Linked DNA regions of Homo sapiens: regions 1, 3 and 4 are each linked to region 2. The links are contacts of gene promoters, found by promoter capture Hi-C in blood cells and fetal thymus (Javierre and others, 2016). All regions are on one chromosome and are shown on one strand. Each heading gives the region's core, a stretch centred on a gene start or on the middle of the fragment in contact. The rest is flanking DNA. Distances are from core to core; before and after follow the strand shown.

Region 1 (3,526 bases), core at 571-3,070, 540 kb after region 2:
ATCTGTCTTGCCAGAAGGGTTGAGAGCTAGGGAGCAGGGAGAAGGAGGGTATGGGTCTCTCCAAGACTCTGTGTCTTAAGAAGGTTGTATTGAAGTCAGGTTATATCTTCACTCACAATATGAGACAATAAATTCAAATAAAACGTCCATTTTTGTCCCCTTATTTTGTTTAGGCTGGTAAAGCAGGTTTGATGATGTTTTTGTCAGGTTGACAAAATTATCAGCAACAAGTTTTTATCTGGAATATCTCCCTCATTACACTTGAATTTCAACAGGGTTCCACCACCCAGGAAGACAGAATAACCGGTTTTCTGAGTTTTTCCTGATACAATTCTGGTTATCACAAACGACTTGAGATCCCTACTCTTCTTTAAAAGGGCAAGAAAAGGGAATCAATATCAATATTTGATAATGGCATTTAAAAAATAATAGACATCACTTTTGCGTTTAAAAAATGTTTTTCAATATTTAATTTACAAGTTGAGTACAAGCCATAAAAAATGTTTTTAAAATAAATTTGAGGAATTGAAAACTCCTAAGTGGTCAATTGAGCCCACATGAATCTACCAAACAAGACTGAAATGTACTTTCACAACATATGGTCTGATGAGGTTTTTCCTGTTAAACAGAGAAAAATAGACCCGGGGAAGTTGCTGGAAGGCATGAACCATGTACCATTTAAAGAGAGGTTTTCCATACTTATGCAAATGAGACCCCGTTAAAGACTCTACTACAGGATCTAAAGCTAGCCGCTCCCCAGTCTGGGGCTCAAATGTTCTCATCTGTAAAATAAGGGAAAAGAGAAAGGGTGGTATATGTGTCTGCGTATTAATTATTTGAGTGTGTGTGTGAATTCTTTGGATATGAAAATAAAGAGAGAAGACATTAATTATTTGGGTGCGTATGTGTGAATTAATTCTTTGGATATGAAAATAAAGAGAGGGCCGGGCGCGGTGGCTCACACCTGTAATCCCAGCACTTTGGGAGGCCGAGGCGGGTGGAGGCCAGGACCAGTCTGGGCAACATGGCGAAACCCCATCTCTACAAAAAATACAAAAATAGCCGGGTGGCGTGGTGCGTGCCTGTAATCTCAGCTACTAGGGAGGCTGAGGCAGGAGAATCCCCTGAACCCGGGAGGCGGAGGCTGCAGTGAGCCGAGAACGCGCCACTGCATTCCCGCCTGGGAAACAGACCATCTAAAAAAAAAAAAAAAAAAAAAAAAAAAAGGCCGGGCGTGGTGGCTCACGCTTGTAATCCCAACACTTTGGGAGGCCGAGGCGGGTGGATCACGAGGTCAGAATTCGAGACTCAGCCTGGCCAACATAGTGAAACCCCGTCTCTACTTAAAAAAAAAAAAAATACAAAAATTAGCCGGGCATGGTGGTGCGTGCCTGTAGTCCCAGCTACTTGGGAGGCTGAGGCAGGAGAATCGCTTGAACCCGGGAGGTGGAGGTTGCAGTGGGCCGAGATCACGCCACTGCACTCCTGCTTGAGCAACAGAATGAGACTTCAAAAAAAAAAAAAGAAAGAGAAAAGACAACCTACCCCAGTATAAGGGGTAAGAAAAAGGATTCAGGGAGGCTCAGGAACTTAAGGCCTCGAGCACCTGCACCTCCAGCCCCACCCGCTAACCCTCCCCAGCGTGGAGATACAGCACAGGGGCCAACATGGCGTCAGCACGCTGGGTCTCGCCTGCGACCCCCGTGACTCCGCACTGCTGCAGCCCGGGCGAGGCTGCGCCCCATTGGCCAACTGCAATGAGGTCATTGCGGGGGCGGGGGCCGGCGGCGGCGCAGGGGCGGGGCTTTACGGACGCAAGCACGTCGAAGCGCTGCTCCTGGAGCCGCGGAGGGTGCGGGTTTGGCTGCGGTGGTTTCTGTGGCGGTTGCTGTGGCGGAGTTTGGAGGTGAGTGGGGGCTGTAGGTTTAGCGCAACAGGGAGCGGCCCTCGATGGACGTAGGAAATCCTTCTAAGAGCCCCCTTGATTGTCAGAGGAATTAGCGGGGATCTGACGTCTTCGAGATAAAATGGGGGTTCGCCCCCTCCTTGGGCACCCCTCCTCTGCCCTGAGGAACCGGAGGCTCACTGCCCTTTGGAAGCCCCGCATCTCTTCCCTGCTTTAAGGGGTAGGCGGAGGAACCGGAGGTTATTGGATAGGCAGAAGAATTTAGGGGGCTTCTTAAAGGGTTTCTCAGTTTGGGGGTTTTCCTCTCCTTTTTTCCCATCTCAAGGTAGATGAGCCTGAGTCCAGAGAATTCCTGCTCATTGGGTAGACAGGAAATGAAGCAGGTGAATACCGTGGGAGGAGGCGAGGACCGGATGACAGGAGTGAGATTCTTCTAGGCAGGGCGCGGGGGCGCTGTAGTTGGACTCATCTTTTGCAGAATTGCTGTTTCTTCATATTTTGTTTTGTGATCGTCCAGAACTACTTTGGCCTAATTAGTTTTCTGTTAGCCTCCATTGCTATAGAGATATTCTTGGGAGACCTATAATCATTAAAGAGCAGGAGGACGGAGGCGACTCGTTGGAGGCTTATCATTATCCACAGCTCCTGAACTATGCTGACCAGGCCTAATTTTATGTGTTTAGAGGTTGTAGAATCTCTCTTTGTTTAAGGGTGGTGCCGGTAACAGCTGATTTGGATGATTCAGATGTACAGAATCTTAAAGTCAGCCTGCATATTCTCTTGAGAAGTCCTTGCTTATGTCTGAGCTTGTGTTACTGTCTTGAACATCACATGCACAAAGGTTTGTTCGTTCAGATTTCTCAAAATGTCTCCCAGCCTTCCAGAAGAGTAAATCTTCCTTTGATGTCAGACTCATCTATCAGTACTCAGTATAGATGCCCTTATGACACTAAAAATACTGTGCATTTTTCTGAGTTTGGATACTGGACAGGCTGTGCCTTACATTAGCTGATCGAGAATAAATAATTGCAGTTTCAGGACCACTGATAGCGCCAGTTGTCTCATACCCGGCAACAGTAAGACAGCACTAAAACGAAACCTTTATTGGCTCATGAGATTTGACAGATGGAAGAATGTAATTAATCTTGAAGGTAGGGTTGAGAAACAGAAAGCTGCAGAGGTGGAAGGCTTATTCTCTGTGGCTTGATAAAACTGCTTTGTCATTATCAGTGTGTTCCTGTCATGCTTGATTTGAAATTGAGCTTAATATGCAAACTGGTTGCTTTTTCCAGATGACGGTTATTTGTTTGAATTCCTAAGTGGGGAAATATTGTTTTCTGAGGAATCTGGAAGATTAAACCCTTTAGTGTAGCCATAGCTTTAGGATAGTGCCAGAACTTTGGGCTTTTAGAAATGCGCATTGTCAGTAGAAGGGAGAAGGATAGTTACAAGGCAGACATCTTTATGAGAGGGTATTGAAGGCCTCTTCTGTTTGTTTCCTGCACTAGCAAAAACAGATTGAGCAGTGTGAAACTCACTGCCTCAATATTGTGTCCTGGGTATTTAAAGAGTTGTTTGAGGTTCCCAGTTCCTGTCTTTAATCTGGATACATTCTTATCA
Region 2 (3,226 bases), core at 74-2,573:
CAGGATTGGGACTTACGTATGTAGGTATTTATTTATTTATTTTTTGAGAAGACAGGCAATCCCTGGAGTAAATTCTAGAGAGGCAGAATTCTGTGAGTGCCCCTTACTGCGGCAGGCATAGTGTCAGAACGGGGATGGAGCCATAAGCTGTCCAGTGTCTGAGGGGTCTTCCCACTACCGCCCCCCAAGCTGTTTAGGAAGGTTTCTAAGAGGTGAAAATCACCCATCTGGGCAAATGAGACCTACCAGCTGTCCCTCACCCCACATTTTAGTTCAGCTGAGCCAGCTGAAAACACAGAGGAAAGTTAAGGGTGGAGAGGAGTAGGCTAGCTGGCCAAACTGTGCTGTGCACTTTTCCTTATCGTCTCTTCCAAAATCCTCTTCCCAGGAAGACCTCCAGGGACCCCATAACGGCAGAACTCGGCACTGCACGGTATCTGCCAAGGTTGGAGACCGCGGCAGGCGCTGGGACTGGCCCATTGCCAGGCTCGACAGGAGGGCGGCGGCAGCATCCTCCAGCCCCTTGAGGACCTTTCCCCGGCCAGACTTGGCGTCAGCTCAAGGGTGGGGTGGCACCCCGGCCATCTGTCACTTAGGGGCTGGACTCGACGATACCTCCAGTGCGAGGAGGGTCCTTGCTGCGAGATTCCAGTCCTCGCGGCGAGACGAGGCGAGGCCTCGGGCACCCTGGGGCAGCCTGGCCCCGCGTGGCCCGCCCCGGAGGCGCGCATAGCTCATTCTCTCCACTTGGGCGTGGAGCTCAATTTTGTACCCACGGAACCAAGAAGGGCCTGAGCCCGGCCAGTGAGGAATCGGAGTGGGACCAGTCGCCACCGCTTTCTCTACTTCCCGTCCCGGCATCCGATGGGGGAACCCGGATGGAGCCAAAAGGCGTCCCGATGAGCCCGAGGAGCCTCGATAGCTGTGCCCGGGAGGGGTGAGGCGCGCCAGGAGGGGGACCATGCAATGTGGCAGAGGCAGAAGAGGCAAGGATGGCGGCAAGCCCCATGCAAACTCCCAGGAACTGGAATATGTGTGTGTCGCGCGGGGGGAGGGGAGGGGCGTCGACACGCGGCCACCGGCCGGGACCCCGGGCGAAGGCTAACCTAAAGCTAAGACCCTCAAAACTTCCGAGCAGGGCGCGTGGGCACCGAGCCCGCGTCGGGGAAGGCGGTTCCGGGTTGGGGGACGGAGGCAGGAAGCTCCTAGGGCGAGCGGGCTCCAGCCAGCGAAAACAGCCTCCCGTGCTCACCTCTGCCGAAGTCCGTGCGCGGCGCTTCTTCCACAGGCCCGACGAACCCCGCAAAATCCGGAGCACCCCAGCAGCCGGTAGCTTCCCGGGATCCGGCTTTTGTCCCGGCCCAGCCGGACTTTTCCCCGCCCCCATCGGCTCGCGGCGAGAACGGCCCCGCGATTGGCCACACGCGTTCCCTAGCCTGAGCGCCAGGGCTCCTCCCAATTCGCTGCTGGCTTGGCTCCGCCCCACGAGGGCGGGCCCCGGGGCCTGCTGGGACTTGTAGTCCCGCTGGCCCATCCACCGCCTCTTGGGAGCCTGCGGGGCCGGGGCGGGGCCCCGGGTGGGGAGATGGGCCGGGCTAGGCTGGGAGGAGAACGCGCGGTGCTGGGGGTTGTGGCCTGATCGCTTGAGGGGCTGGACAGATTGCCACTCGGGGAGTTGGGGGAGGGGCGGGTAGGATTAGCCCAACTGGCTGTAACGCAGCTTTGGGACCTGGAGTACCCTTGCTCCTTCCCTTGGGAGAAACGGACGTCTGCATCTCGGCCGCACCGAATCCGATTGCTTAGACAGTCTCCTTAAGCAGCAGTGTCTGGCAGGCCGCTTTCCTTTAGCACGTGGAGCCTCTCTCCTCCCTGGACTCTCCCCACTGGGCCGATGAGGCAAGGCTGAGCCGAGGCTAACAGAGCATACTTCCCAGTGTGGGATAAGGCAGGGGCCGCGGTAAGCAAGTGGGGCTAGGAGGGTGCAGGCACAGCGCTGTCCGTCCCACTCACCTGCTCGCCTCAGCACGGATCAGGGCGGAGCTAGGAATTCAATGCGAGATTCCAGCGAAGGGCTGGAGCCATCCCAGACAGTCTCTTGTTCCCACCAACCACAGGCTTAGACACTGGAATGAATGAACTGCTGTCTCCCCCTTCTCCATTACCTGAGACAGATCGAATTTTCCAAACCAAAAACTGGGACATCCAATCTGACAGGTGCTGGTGAACTTGTGGGGCAGAATATGTGAAATCAGTCCTGGAAATCAGGACATGTATTTACCACTCTGACATGCTGCAGCCTCCCTCCCTACCTGCACCCCAACCCTGTAGGTCCGGAGCTGCTCCCTAAGCCTAACAGCTGTCTAGCTCCAGGAAGGAGGCCAAAAGCGTCCACTGACCGACTCAGGTGAAGAGGTCAGCCCAGAATGCAGGGAAGCAGCAGGCCTGTCCCCCTGCCAAGCACTTTGGGTCATACTCACACTGCAACAGTGTTGCGACATTTGCAGACAAAATCTTCTCCAAGACCCCCTCCCCCAATCCTGTTGCTGCCAGGAGTAAGGTAACTGAACTTGCTACCCATGCCTGAATCAAGTGTTCCCTGATGATGTCACTTTCTGGTCCCTTCCCTCCCATTCATCTTTTTGAAATAGCAGTTCCTTATCACCTCTCTTCTCTTGTCCTAAAATGGGGGTGGCCAGTCTTGGTGGCTCACACCTGTAATCCCAGCACTTTGGAAGGCCAAGGTGGGGGATCACTTGAGGTCAGGAGTTCAAGACCAACAAGGCAAAACCCCATCTCTACAAAAAATACAAAAATTAGCCAGGCATGGTGGCACACGCCTATAAATCCCAGCTACTCTTGAGGTTGAGGCATGAGAATCGCTTAAACCCGGGAGGTGGAGGTTGCAGTGAGGTGAGATTGCACCACTGCACTCCAACCTGGGTGACAGAGAAGGATTCTATCTCAAAAAAAAAAAAAAAAAAAAAAAGATACACTCCAGGCAAGGCATGCTGTCTCATGCCTGTAATCCCAGAATTTTGGAAGGCCAAGTCAGGCAGATTGCTAGAGCCCAGAAGTTCAAGTACAGCCTGGGTAACATGGTAAGAGCCCCCACCACCACCATCAAATCTCTACAAAAAATAAAAAGACCGGGCGTGGTGATTCACATGCCTGTAATCCCAGCAATTTGGGAGGCCTAGGTGGGTAGATCACCTGAGTTCGAGGTCAA
Region 3 (3,393 bases), core at 745-3,244, 660 kb after region 2:
ACAGTGGCTCATGCCTGTAATCCCAGCACTTTGGGAGGCCGAGGCGGGTGGATCACGAGGTCAGGAGATCAAGACCATCCTGGCTAACACGATGAAACCCCATCTCTACTAAAAATACCAAAAAAAAAAAAAAAAAAAAATTAGGCTTCGTGGCGGGTGCCTGTAGTCCCAGCTACTCTGGGAGGCTGAGGCGGGGGAATGGCGTGAACCCAGGAGGTGGAGCTTATAGTGAGCCGAGATTGTGCCACTGCACTCCAGCCTGGGTGACAGAGCGAGACTCCGTCTCAACAACAACAACAACAACAATAACAAAAAGAGATAAGGGCCTGAAAAAGAAACAATTAGCTCGGAGCATTCAAGGAAGATTTCTGGAAAAGGTGATGTCTAAGTGAAATCCTCAAGGAAAGAAAGAGCTGGCCAGGAAGAGAAGCAGGTACAGGGAAGACAACATGCAAAGGACAGAGCAGTAAAACACACCAGAATTATCTAGTGTTCGTGGATAGAAAAATAATGAGGATTGGTGAGGCCAGAGGCTGGCTGGGGCGTCTTCCGGTGCCTTTTACATGTTTTTTGCAGCACTAGAGAGCCATTGAAGAGTTTTAAATAGGGAAGGTGCATGACCAGATCTATTTAGACAGATCATTCTGACTGCAATGTTTAAGAGTTTAAGATATGTTTGAAGAGCCAAGATCTGTTAGGAGGATACTGCAACAAATAAAGAGGGCGTGAACTAGAGCAACCATGGCAGATGGAAAGGAGAGTGGATTCAAGAATGGAAAAATTAGCCAGGCTCTGTGGTTCACGCCTGTCCTCCCAGCACTTTGGGAGGCCAAGACAGGAGGATCACTTGAGCCCAGGAGTTGGGACCAACCTGGGCAGCACAGTAAGACCCATCTCTATAAAAATTAAAAAAATAAATAAAAACGGAAAAATCAGCTGGACTTGATGGTTGACTAGTAAAGGAAGTCAAGAATTGCTCCCAATTTCTGGTTTGGGTGAAGAGTAATTCCATTAGGGGAGGAGAATGTTAGAAAGAAACCAGTCCGGGGTGGGGGGAAGATGAGGCATTCTACTGTGGCAATTTTGACTCTGATATTAATGCCTGACAGATTCCAGCTGGAGGTCTGGGCTGGAGAATATAAATTTGATATGTGTGTTTAGAGAATCGGATGGAGGCAGGAGGAACATCATTTGGCAGAGGGTGTTGCTAATGTAGATGATAAGGAATAAGAGCTTTGGAGCGGAAATGGATCTTGGTAGCAACAATACAGAATCTTCTGTCATCCATCATATTGTAAATCTGGAAACCTCGTGAAGTTGGGATCCTAACAAGAGGAGTACACACCTTGATTTAAGGATGGTGGCCTAAGACAGGTGAGTTTTCCATGGGGGGCCTTGTCCCCAAAGAGTTCACACCAGGAGTAGATTCACCCGTTGTCGGGCTCTCATGGGTGACAATCGGCGCAAGTTCTCCTCACCTGATCCGCAAAATAGATCTTCTGCTTGCCGTACATCTTCTCTTTGATCTTGCCTTGTTGCGCCAGCTGCTCCAGCGTCTTCACCACCACCTGGCAGAGGAGAGAGAAGGAGCAATCAGAGGAGTCTGAGCCTGGGTCTGGGGAAATCCAGCCAGTGATGTGGAAAACGCCCAAGGCTCCAAAGGGCACGACCCCAGCCTGAATCCAGGGAGTCCGACGGAGAGGGAATCCCGGGAGAAGGTCCTCACCGCCTTGCCCAGTCCGTGTTCCCGCTGTAGGTTCCCGAACACATCCTGGGAGCTGTAGGGCCGGTTCTGCTCCTGCAGGTACCTCAGGAGGATCCCGGCGGCTACGGAGAGAAAGGCAGGGGAGGGGGCCACTCAACCGACCTCCTCACCCACTGCCCTCCCGGGTCTTCCCCGCGCCCACGGCGCCGTTACCTCCCGCCGCAGCTTCTGCCCGGCCTTTACTCATCGCCTTTCCCGCCACCCAACTCAGAAAGCCGGACGTTGTAGTTGCTCGGGGCGACGGCTCCTTCCGGCGACGGGGGCGGGCCTCGAACGGTGATTGGCTGAAGGGGAAGCCTTCCGGAGGAGCAAAGCGACCCCTCCCGGACTCCATAGTTCATTTCAGGTCGGAACTTGCGCATTCGGGCCGGACCTCAAGCCATGGGCCTCTGCGAAGGCGCCGGCGTGCCCACGGCTAAGAAACTTCCTCTTTCTGCTCCCGGGAACGAAGGCTGTAGCAGAGAAGGCCTTCAAGTTTCGAGACCCAGTTCCAGCCGCAGCTGAGCACTGGTGACCTTGAATTAAGTCTAATGTTGGGATTGGAAGACGCTTCAGACATCCGCTGCCGCCCTGGGCAAGCGACCAGCTCAAGGTTACCCCACAGGGACGTGCTCTGGTCCCACGGTCCAGTGCTCTTTTGTCGGTTAGTTTTGTCATTTGTAAAATAGGAACAGTAGATAGTGGTAGGAAAGTGGTTGTGAAAACTTAATAGAAAGCTAAGCGCCTTGGTCGGGCGCAGTGGCATGTCACCCCTGCAATTCTATCACTTTGGGAGGCTGAGGCGGGCGGATCGTTTGAGCCCAGGAATTCGAAACCAGTCTGGGCAATATGAAACCCCATCTCTGCAAATAAAGTACAAAAAATTAAGAGTGGTGGCGCGCTTCTGTGGTCCCAGCTACTCTGGAGGCTGAGGTGGGAGGGTCACCAGAGCCCCGGACATCGAGGCTGCAGTGAGCCACTATGAGCGCGCCACTGCACCCCATCCTGGCGACAGAGCGAGACGCAGTCTCGAACAAAAAAAAAAAAAGTGGGAAGGGGGGACAGCTAAGCGCCTTGGAGAGCAACCACCCTTATTTGCCTAATACCGAGCTTCGCACCCAGGGGGCACTCGACACCTACTGTAGTTTGGACGCCAAGGAACGATAGGGTTAGGAGGGGGCTACTGTTCAACCACAAAGCTTGTGGAAAAGTTTGTTAGCCCAGACAATCTCAGGGCAACACCTGGCAGGTGCTTTCCACCCCTGACCACAGTGGCCAATGGGACAGAGCCTGAAATAAATATTTCTAGTTTCTGAGGTGAGCTGAAGGCCAAAGAGCAGCTGTCCCTGCAGCTCAGACCATCCAGTGAAGGAGTAAGGTGCTACTTTTTAAAGCCTTCTGCTACCTACAACCTCCTTAGCCTTTAAAACGTGTGCTTGTCTCTGCACGTTTAGGAGACAATATTAAGAATTAGAAATGAAAGGGCCGAGCGCGGTGGCTCACGCCTGCAATCCCAGCACTTTGGGAGGCCAGGGCGGGCGGATCACGAGGTCAGGAGATCGAGACCATCCTGGCTAACACTGTGAAACCCCATCTCTACTAAAAATACAAAAAATTAGCCAGGCGTGCTGGTGGGCGCCTGTAGTCCA
Region 4 (3,314 bases), core at 208-2,707, 690 kb after region 2:
AATCCAAAATTATGGTTGGTAGATCCTATGAAGTCCTAGGTCCACTTCAGGTGATGACAACTGAGAGAAGCAGCAGTTCCATTTTCACAGAGCATGACACACACAAATAAAGCATATTTACAGTGCTACTTTTCCAGCTCAGGAAAACTCACACACAGTATTAGACATCAATTTCCTTGCCTATAAACCATGGCTAAGGATGCCTCTCTAATTCCTTGGAACAGGGAGGAGTTACAATCACAGGTGGCTTTGACACGCGTGTAATCTCCGTCATCATTTCCTAACTGTTCTTTAAAAGCTTGTAATTTTCTTTCAATTTTCAGCTTTGGGGGCTCACACTGACGCTTAGACTTCATAAACTTCCTTCCTAGATATATAACATGCTAATTCATGCGAATCGCTCAAGCTTGTTTTATAATCACACCTATGGATACCTTTGCAAGACTTCACGCCTCTACTCCAACAATAAACTACTAAAACCTCTGGAAACAATCTAGAACTTGCACTTGAGCAGACAAGAGAAAGGAAGTGATGGCTTTAAAGGGACGCAGCTTTGTCGGGCTCAAAAGAGGAGCCCTCGCTCACTCTTGAGCGGCTCAAGATGTTACCAGAAGCTCCCGCCAGATGTGCGGGGCGGGGGTGCGGGCACAGGTAAGGCAGAGAAGATGGGTGGACGGCCCTGGGAAGAACTAGGGTGCCGAAGCCTGCAGGCGGGATGGAGTGGAAGGAGGTGAGGCAAAATTAGGCAAGTACAGGAAGGAGCCAGTGCAGCGAAGAAAACAGGGCAGGCGAGAAGTAGAGCCCTAGAGGAACCAACGAATTCGGGACTCGGAGGGTTTCCGAGGGTCCAGTTCTCTCACCAGAAAGCCGCGTTCAGCCCCAGGCACCACAGAGCGCTCCTAGCTGGCCGCTCCCACACCAGGGCTGCCTGCACCCGACTCAGCAGAGGCTCGTAAGGCCCCAGCACCTCCACCAGGGCCCGCTGCGCCGCCTCAACCTGCTGGTCCCGCTCCCAGGAGCCTGACACATCTCGGCGGCCCCTGAAAGTCGACCCCGAAGCCGGGCCTGGGGTCGTGGGAACCCCTTCGGCCTCAGCCATCTCCCCGCGGCAGCCACAACATCCGGGGCCGTGGCCCGACAAGTCACAATAACAGCAACTGCGCAGATGCGCGATTCGGCGGGGGAGGTGGCTTCGCACCACAGCGCGCTTGCGCGCAGGCCCAAGCAGGCGCCCACCCAGAGGGGAGGGAGGACGCCGTACCCCGCCCTCACTGAGGCGCGGAGCCGGATCCGGAGGCGCCGAGCCGCATCCGGAGCCGCGCACGCGCAATCTGCATGAACGAAGGCCAGTGCTTAAAGACGTGCCATTCATTGCCAGAACTCGATTCTCATTGGAGCGGAGGAAGTTCGTGGGTGGAGCTGGTTGTTTGGCGCCTGCGTCTTGCGGCGAGCGGGCTGGCGTGCGGCGCCGTTGCGGGCGGGAGCGGCTGCAACGCCGGTGCCTGAGGAGCGATGCCGAGGGAAATCATCACCCTACAGTTGGGCCAGTGCGGCAATCAGAGTGAGCGAAACTCCGGCCCCTCAGCTAGCCAGGTTCCTTAGGGTCAATGGGATCTCGCTGTGGGATCCTGGACTCCATCTGTCCTTGCCAGAATCGTAGTTCTCTGAAAGGCGAGACATCCCTGACCCAGTGTCCACTTGCCCAACCCCGAGGGGCCCTCCCCTGCCCAGTCCCTGGCGTACAGTCCTTTCCTCAGACACGGGAGAGTCCTGCGGCTTGACTTCTTATCCCTGGACGCAGGCGCCCAGTCCCCCGGCTCCTGATTGGAACCTGCCCGGACCTAGATATCTTCTTTCTCCCCTGCCCGCCCCTTCCCCCCAGTTGGGTTCGAGTTCTGGAAACAGCTGTGCGCCGAGCATGGTATCAGCCCCGAGGGCATCGTGGAGGAGTTCGCCACCGAGGGCACTGACCGCAAGGACGTCTTTTTCTACCAGGTGCCCCCAGCGACTTGGCCGGGGGCGGCAGTTGCCCAAGGGGGCGGAAGGGAAGGGAGTGGCCTGGTACTGGGAACCCCGCTGGGCAGTAGGGCCAGGCGGCTGGCTTGAGGAGGGAGGGCCGGAGGGAGCCAGAGTTGGGAGGACTTCGGACTTGGGCCGCCCTAGCTGATTGGGCCCCCTCCTGGACTCCCCTTGACAGGCAGACGATGAGCACTACATCCCCCGGGCCGTGCTGCTGGACTTGGAACCCCGGGTGATCCACTCCATCCTCAACTCCCCCTATGCCAAGCTCTACAACCCAGAGAACATCTACCTGTCGGAACATGGAGGAGGAGCTGGCAACAACTGGGCCAGCGGATTCTCCCAGGTCGTTTCCTATTCCCTGGCAGGGCCCACAACTCGCTGGGTAGGGACAGGCTCTATGACGTCCCGAAGAGAGGGAAAACCGGATCAGGGATGTATGAATGCTGGAGGGAGAGACCTGGCTGCAGGGAGTGGACTATGTAATATTGTCAAGCGCCTACACTAGCTAATGCAGTGTGCCAGGTCATTCTAAGTGCTTTACATATATTAATTTTTCTAAATCTCCCAACAACCCTAGAAGTAAGTACTACAGGTCCACAGTCCCTTATCTGCCTTTCCAGGATCCAGAAAGCCATGAAACCAAAGGACATTTCATAACTAGTTTATCAGCAAAAACAAATTTCAATGAAGACAGGCTGTTTTATAGTTTCTTTTTTTTAATTTTTATTTATTTATTTTTTTTGAGACGGAGTCTCACTCTGTCGCCCAGGCTGGAGTGCAGTGGCACGCTCTCAGCTCACTGCAACCTCTGCTGCCCGGGTTCAAGCGATTCTCCTGCCTCAGCCTCCCGAGTAGCTGGGATTACAGGTGCTTGCCATCACGCCTGGCTAATTTTTGTATTTTTAGTAGAGACGGGGTTTTACTGTGTTAGCCAGGGTGGTCTTGATCTCCTGACCTCGTGATCCACCTGCCTCGGCCTCCCAAAGTGCTGGGATTGCAGGCGTGAACCGCCATGCCCGGCCCTATAGTTTCTATCCAACTTACTGTCATTAGTGATGCCTTTTATTACAGAAATACTAATATATTTGATTAACGTGCTTCTGATTAAATAAAAATTCCCACTGGAATTTTATTTAATATATAGTATATATACCATAATACCTTTCTAAAATCTGAAATATTTTGAATTCCAAAACATAACTGGCCCCAACACTGTTAGATAAGGGTATATGGACCTGTATTATTACCTTCATTGTACAGATGAGGAAACTGAGGCATAGAGCAATTAAATA

Evidence for each region. The method cuts DNA at HindIII sites, captures the fragments that hold promoters and counts their contacts. A CHiCAGO score of 5 or more calls a contact.
Region 1: the fragment with the promoter of ATP6V0A1 here is called in contact with the fragment with the promoter of ACLY in region 2 in 2 of 17 cell types (erythroblasts and M0 macrophages); the score reaches 13.6 in erythroblasts.
Region 3: a contact is called between the fragment with the promoter of PSMC3IP here and the fragment with the promoter of ACLY in region 2, in 2 of 17 cell types (fetal thymus and erythroblasts). The highest score is 6.6, in fetal thymus.
Region 4: the fragment with the promoter of TUBG1 here is called in contact with the fragment with the promoter of ACLY in region 2 in 1 of 17 cell types (fetal thymus); the score reaches 5.0 in fetal thymus.

What each region holds. Positions count from the first base shown.
Region 1 is chr17:42,457,058-42,460,583 of GRCh38, forward strand. It overlaps ATP6V0A1 (ATPase H+ transporting V0 subunit a1), which reads left to right and starts at 1,821. Exons shown (of 22, transcript NM_001130021.3): 1 at 1,821-1,906. RefSeq lists an enhancer at 1,441-1,530 and a silencer at 1,681-1,890. The HindIII fragment of the contact is 8,228 bases long and covers 1-3,526 here.
Region 2 is chr17:41,917,628-41,920,853 of GRCh38, forward strand. It overlaps ACLY (ATP citrate lyase), which reads right to left and starts at 1,324. Exons shown (of 29, transcript NM_001096.3): 1 at 1,253-1,324. RefSeq lists silencers at 727-966, 1,447-1,706. The HindIII fragment of the contact is 30,796 bases long and covers 1-3,226 here.
Region 3 is chr17:42,575,735-42,579,127 of GRCh38, forward strand. PSMC3IP (PSMC3 interacting protein) reads right to left here and starts at 1,995. Exons shown (of 8, transcript NM_016556.4): 1 at 1,919-1,995; 2 at 1,727-1,827; 3 at 1,479-1,568. The coding sequence starts at 1,952. RefSeq lists a silencer at 1,907-1,956 and an enhancer at 2,257-2,346. The HindIII fragment of the contact is 6,888 bases long and covers 1-2,941 here.
Region 4 is chr17:42,608,226-42,611,539 of GRCh38, forward strand. TUBG1 (tubulin gamma 1) reads left to right here and starts at 1,458. Exons shown (of 11, transcript NM_001070.5): 1 at 1,458-1,561; 2 at 1,883-1,995; 3 at 2,198-2,365. The coding sequence starts at 1,513. It overlaps RETREG3 (reticulophagy regulator family member 3), which reads right to left and starts at 1,149. Exons shown (of 9, transcript NM_178126.4): 1 at 861-1,149. The coding sequence starts at 1,099. RefSeq lists an enhancer at 1,031-1,140. The HindIII fragment of the contact is 4,939 bases long and covers 405-3,314 here.